2 separate regions of the Homo sapiens genome follow, and region 2 is linked to region 1. Evidence: promoter capture Hi-C in human tissues and cell types (Jung and others, 2019). All regions are on one chromosome and are shown on one strand. The core of a region is centred on a gene start or on the middle of the fragment in contact, and the rest is flanking DNA. Distances in the headings are between cores, read along the strand shown.

Region 1 (3,271 bases), core at 304-2,803:
GTCCCCTCCCCCAATGCCACCGTCACCTGACTCGGCACCTGATGTGTTTTCTGTTTCTATAGTTTTGACTTTTCCAGAATGTTACATAAATGAAATCAAAATAATAAGTAGAATTTTTGATAGAGCTTCTTTCCCTTCGTCTAATGAATTTGAGATTCATGAATGGTATTAGTTTGTTTCTTGTTATTGCTAAGTAGTATTCCATTATGTGGATATACCATATTTTGTTTATTCATTTACTAGTAGAATAACATTTGGCTTTCCTCCAGTTTGGGGCCATTATATTAAGCTGCTATAAAACTGGAGTACAAGTTTTTTTAATAGAATTGCGTTTTTATTTCCCTTGTAAATATGGTAAGACTAGTACTTGAGACAATAGTGCTCTTAAGCTGTCTCTCTTTAGTCATTAAGCTTCCAATTAGTCCTAGAATCAGTCTCAGTAGTTAGGAAATCATGACTGCATACTGAACACTGTACCAGGTGAAAGAGAGGAATATATAACAAAACGTTGAGATCGATAGGTATCGATATATGGCTTCAAGGCCGAGCAGAAGCCACCCGAAGCAAGGAGAAAAAATGCCAGGAAAGCTCACAAATATAGTTTTGATCTTCATGCTACTGTGAGAATTAAAAAAAAAGGTGAACATAAATAACAACCTTTGAAAATGTCAACACGTGAAGCTATTAACCAACTCCACATCCCTGTTTAGAAATTCCTGCTTACTATTCGAATATACACTTGACATACAATTGACGGACGTTCCAACACTATATTTAATTGGCAGAAATTACTTCTTAAGGGTACAAAGGGTTTTCTTTATGCACGCAAATGATTACTGTCGAAGGTAATCTGGGACTCGATTAACGGCTGTGTTAATTATTCTCCCTTCAGCAGACCTCAGTATCCGTTTAAGACTAAAGTGGCTAGAATTACCTGCCCACCCGGGCTCCCAGTTGTAACTGAGACAAGCGGAGGAGCCTGAGGAGCTGAAGACGCACAGGTGACGGTCGCGGATGGCCGGCAGGATCTGACATTTAAAATCGCCCTGCTCATCTGGGCCTCGGAGCCTTTGACAGGCGGGCGTGTCAGCGACAGTGTGGGGAAGGGGCTGGGCTCCGCCAGGCAGCGCGCGACGACGCCCTTGCCTTGGCCTTCACAGAGTAGAACCCGAGAAGCCCACTCGCCCGTCTTGGCCAACGCCCCCAACGCCCAGGGCTCCCCCCGCAGTCGGCGGGCAGGTGTGCGTGGTGCGCGAGCCCAGTGCGTGCCGGGTGCGGCGCCAGCAGCGGAGGGGCGGCCCGGCGCCCAGCGGAGAGCCGCTGGCTGGGTGGGTGTCGGCCTCCCCGCCTCCTTCTTCTCCCCGCCGGCTTGCCGGGGATGCTTGCGCGAGGCGCCCCCTCGCCTTTAAGCTCCCGGCCCCGGGGGGCGGTGTGTGTGAGTAGCTGGGAGGGGGCCGCGAGGCGCTCCGCCGAGGGCTCGTCCGGGTTTGTCCGCCGCCGTCACCTGACTCGTCGGAGGAGCCACAGCTGAGGTGGGGGCGGGGATGGGGACGCAGCTCGGAGCGCTAGAGAGACGCGGCGGCGCTGGCAGAAGAGGCGGCGGCGGGCGGGTACTGGCTTCTGGGGCCAGGGGCCAGGGGCGGTGGGCGCCGGGACCGCGGAGCTGAGGAGCGGGGCCCGGCCAGGGCTGGAGACTTTGCGCCCGGGGGCACCGGGGCTACGCGCGGTCGCACACATCCACCGGCGCGGCTTCCCTCGGCGGCCCGGGCTCCGCTCATCCTGCGGCGGGCGGCGCCGCTCAGGGGCGGGGTGAGTACCCGCGGCCGTACTCGGCCCCCTCCCCGCGCCAGGGTCTCGCGGGGATCCGCAGAGGATAATCCCAGGGTGCGGAGAAGGGCAGCGGCCGAGTGACAGCTCCGCGGAGCGCTCCAGGGCGGGCGGGGGACTGGGCTTCGCTGTCAGCCCGGCTCCTCTCCAAAGCCAGGAAGGGTGAGGCGCCCCAAGACTCCGGCGCCTCCGCAGAGCTCCCGGGCGGCCCCTGCGGCAGGGATTTGGAACCGGGGGGAAGGGGCCCGGGCGATGGGCCTCGGCGAGGCTTTGGAGCCGGCGGCGAGGAAGGAAGGGGAGGCGAGGGCATAACATGGCGCAACGCTAGGATAATCTCCTTCGCGACTGAGGGAGGACGAGCCCTTTGCTGCAGCAGCGCGAGGAGGAGGAGGGAGGCAGCCAGGGCTTGGGTATCCGATGCATTCCCCGAAGCCTGCGGGCTGCTAGGAGGAAAGTCTGCTGAGGTGGGAGATGGGCACCGGTGGGTGCGGCGCCCAGGGAATAACCCCAACGCACGTTGTGGCTAGTCCAGCACCCGCGGGTCAGGTTGCGGGGAAAGTGCTGATTGACAGGGGGGTCCCCAGGGGGTGAGTCTGGCCCTATGTGGGGGCCGGGGGAGAATGGGGACGGTGTCACGATGCTGCGACTGGAGCCCACGCTGGGGTTCCGTGACGGCCCTACTCACGGCCAAGACTCCCTGGACCGCATCGCAGGAGCGGGGCTTGGCGCGTTGCTGGCTCCGAGAGGTGGTGCCAGGGTGGGGATGGAGGAGGAGAGAGCCGCCGCGCGGCTGGAGGAGGCAAGGCCTGGGTGCTTGGAGGGTAGGGTCTGCGGATTAAAGCCGGACCGTCTCCCCTTGTTTCCTGCAGAAGAGGAGGCGGTAGACGCGACCACAGAAGATGTCGGGCCAAACGCTCACGGATCGGATCGCCGCCGCTCAGTACAGCGTTACAGGCTCTGCTGTAGCAAGAGCGGTCTGCAAAGCCACTACTCATGAAGTAATGGGCCCCAAGAAAAAGCACCTGGACTGTAAGCATCTCTTTATATAAGAGGGACATGCGCACGGCAGAGGCGCCTGGGATGCTGGTGGTGCGGCCTGCGCTCTTGGTCCATAATGCTGTGGCCTCTGATACTCCCAGCCAGGTTGCCCCTGAGCTGAAATTCTTCAGCTGTGAAGGTGTTCCCTTGGGTTAGCCATGAAACCTTGTCTTGTGAGCCATTTTTTCCTCTTATTGACCTCCAAGGTCTTGGTGGAGGGGGAAAAATACACACACACACACACACACACACGCATATGTATATACACACACACAAGAGAGAGATTGTACACACTGAATTAGATGTTTTTCACCTTTTTTTCTTTCTCCACCCACCCTCCCTTCTCCAAATTAGAGGAAATTAGAGGTTGCACAGTCAAAAAAAAAAAAGATGAATTTATGGAAGG
Region 2 (3,271 bases), core at 195-2,694, 95 kb before region 1:
GCTGGGAACAGGACAGTTTGTAATTCAAGTAGACCCCACTAGAGTGCACCATATGAACCAAAAAGTTAATTTAACAAATTTTTTAGGTCTAAGGATGGTATCATTCATCACAACCCTAATCATCAAGTAACAACTTCTAAACATATAAGCAAATATGTGTATAGAAAAATATTGACTTGAAAACATAAGAAAAAAACACAGGATTTATGTTTACTGAATTTATACCTATTCTACTCCATGTGACCTGGCTTCAGGGAACACTAATGTTACCTTTTGCAAAGATAAAAATCATTTAACATGTTTGTGGCATGATAAACAAGCATAGATGTACTTACATGAATGTGACATACTACAGACTCTTATACTAAGGGTTTGATAGGCATCAATTTTATGTCCTGATAGAATGCTGGGGAGAGGAAAGTTGAATGTTTCAGAACAAAGAGAAAACAAAATCAAACACCAGAAAACCCTAGCATTGAAACAGAAATCATGGAAGACTAAAGTCAGCTGAAGGAACTAAGCACTAAAGCTTAGTTTCTAGTTATAAATGGTCTTAAATGAAAAGATAAATGCTTCCAGAGCCCTTGAGGAAAAAGGTAAGGAAAATAAGAGATCCATCTGGGAGGACTCTACAGGGATCATGATCTCAGGAGGAGCAGAGGCCATGGTGGCCCTGGAACACGATGGCATGCTATGTACTCTTAGCAACCTGCTGTGGCTCTAAATGTTAATTTTTAAAAAAGAGTTGATGTAAGAGAACATATCAGAGTAGGAAAAGGAAAAGAGATGGTTTAACTTTTAAAGGAAGAAAATTGCTGCTACACAGCTTAAGCAAAGAAGTCTTTATACTCTTCATTCCTCTACCAAATCACTGAAATCCTTCTCAGGGGGCAAATCATACTCCTGAAAATCACTCCTCAGGAAAAGTAGAGTATGCTCAAGGCTCAGAAGGAAATAAAGGTGAATTGGGAGAAATGTCTCCCTGGCTACAAAACTCTGAGAAGTATTAGTGAAAACTGCTGATGATTCCATTAAAACTGCTTCTCCAGTTATATGGAATCAACAACTGAATAGATCACAAATGGAAAGAAAAATAAGGATTTACAAAGAGAAGCAAAGAACATCAAAAGCACAGGCCATTCAAGCAGAAATTATATGAATGCAGCAGCCATATGCTCACCTGCAAGTTTAAATTAATTCTGATTTTAAAAATTATCTTTACCTGGCTGAACCACAGAATTCACATGCTTAGAAGCAATGAGAAGTTATCAAATCTTTGTGTTTAATTTTAAACCAGATACATCATTTTACCGCAAGGGACCCAGAACCAGCCACGTATATAAGAAATGAATAGAGTTACAGCTTAGGAGGAGGAGCCAAGATGGCCGAATAGGAACAGCTCCGGTCTACAGCTCCCAGCGTGAGCGACGCAGAAGACGCGTGATTTCTGCATTTCCATCTGAGGTACCGGGTTCATCTCACTAGGGAGTGCCAGACAGTGGGCGCAGGTCAGTGGGTGCGCGCACCATGCGCGAGCCGAAGCAGGGCGAGGCATTGCCTCACTTGGGAAGCGCAAGGGGTCAGGGAGTTCCCTTTCTGAGTCAAAGAAAGGGGTGACGGACGGCACCTGGAAAATCGGGTCACTCCCACCCGAATACTGCGCTTTTCCGACGGGCTTAAAAAACGGTGCACCACGAGATTATATCCTGCACCTGGCTCGGAGGGTCCTACGCCCACGGAGTCTGGCTGATTGCTAGCACAGCAGTCTGAGATCAAACTGCAAGGCGGCAGCGAGGCTGGGGGAGGGGCGCCCGCCATTGCCCAGGCTTGATTAGGTAAACAAAGCAGCCTGGAAGCTCGAACTGGGTGGAGCCCACCACAGCTCAAGGAGGCCTGCCTGCCTCTGTAGGCTCCACCTCTGGGGGCAGGGCACAGACAAACAAAAAGACAGCAGTAACCTCTGCAGACTTAAATGTCCCTGTCTGACAGCTTTGAAGAGAGCAGTGGTTCTCCCAGCATGCAGCTGGAGATCTGAGAACAGGCAGACTGCCTCCTCAAGTGGGTCCCTGACCCCTGACCCCTGAGCAGCCTAACTGGGAGGCAGCCCCCAGCAGGGGCACACTGACACCTCACACGGCAGGGTACTCCAACAGACCTGCAGCTGAGGGTCCTCTCTGTTAGAAGGAAAACTAACAAACAGAAAGGACATCCACACCAAAAACCCATCTTTACATCACCATCATCAAAGACCAAAAGTAGATAAAACCACAAAGATGGGGAAAAAACAGAACAGAAAAACTGGAAACTCTAAAAAGCAGAGCACCTCTCCTCCTCCAAAGGAACGCAGTTCCTCACCAGCAACAGAACAAAGCTGGATGGAGAATGACTTTGACGAGTTGAGAGAAGAAGGCTTCAGACAATCAAATTACTCTGAGCTACGGGAGGACATTCAAACCAAAGGCAAAGAAGTTGAAAACTTTGAAAAAAATTTAGAAGAATGTATAACTAGAATAACCAATACAGAGAAGTGCTTAAAGGAGCTGATGGAGCTGAAAACCAAGGCTCGAGAACTATGTGAAGAATGCAGAAGCCTCAGGAGCCGATGCGATCAACTGGAAGAAAGGGTATCAGCGATGGAAGATGAAATGAATGAAATGAAGCAAGAAAGTCTAGAGAAAAAAGAATAAAAAGAAATGAGCAAAGCCTCCAAGAAATATGGGACTATGTGAAAAGACCAAATCTACGTCTGATTGGTGTACCTGAAAGTGATGGGGAGAATGGAACCAAGTTGGAAAACACTCTGCAGGATATTATCCAGGAGAACTTCCCCAATCTAGCAAGGCAGGCCAACGTTCAGATTCAGGAAATACAGAGAACGCCACAAAGATACTCCTCGAGAAGAGCAACTCCAAGACACAAAATTGTCAGATTCACCAAAGTTGAAATGAAGGAAAAAATGTTAAGGGCAGCCAGAGAGAAAGGTCGGGTTACCATCAAAGAGAAGCCCATCAGACTAACAGCGGATCTCTCAGCAGAAACCCTACAAGCCAGAAGAGAGTGGGGGCCAATATTCAACATTCTTAAAGAAAAGAATTTTCAACCCACAATTTCATATCCAGCCAAACTAAGCTTCATAAGTGAAGGAGAAATAAAATACTTTACAGACAAGCAAATGCTGAGAGATTTTGTCACCACCAGGCCTGCCTTACAAGAGCTCCTGAAGGAAGCACTAAACATGGAAAGGAACAACCGGCACCAGCCACTGCAAAAT

What was found. Contacts are between HindIII fragments. The study calls those that stand out against the background at their distance.
Region 2: a contact is called between a fragment that was not itself captured here and the fragment with the promoter of SNAP91 in region 1, in 4 of the 25 tissues and cell types used here (H1 embryonic stem cells, heart left ventricle, mesendoderm cells and 1 more).

Annotation. Positions count from the first base shown.
Region 1 is chr6:83,707,383-83,710,653 of GRCh38, reverse strand. SNAP91 (synaptosome associated protein 91) reads left to right here and starts at 1,553. Exons shown (of 30, transcript NM_001242792.2): 1 at 1,553-1,809; 2 at 2,697-2,856. The coding sequence starts at 2,727. It overlaps LOC105377879 (a long non-coding RNA gene), which reads right to left and starts at 1,212. Exons shown (of 3, transcript NR_136251.1): 1 at 935-1,212. RefSeq lists silencers at 1,281-1,340, 1,671-1,880, 2,290-2,584. The HindIII fragment of the contact is 7,193 bases long and covers 1-3,271 here.
Region 2 is chr6:83,801,866-83,805,136 of GRCh38, reverse strand. No RefSeq gene overlaps it. Among named protein-coding and RNA genes, the nearest start is that of RIPPLY2, 50 kb to the left of the region's middle. The HindIII fragment of the contact is 5,262 bases long and covers 1-3,271 here.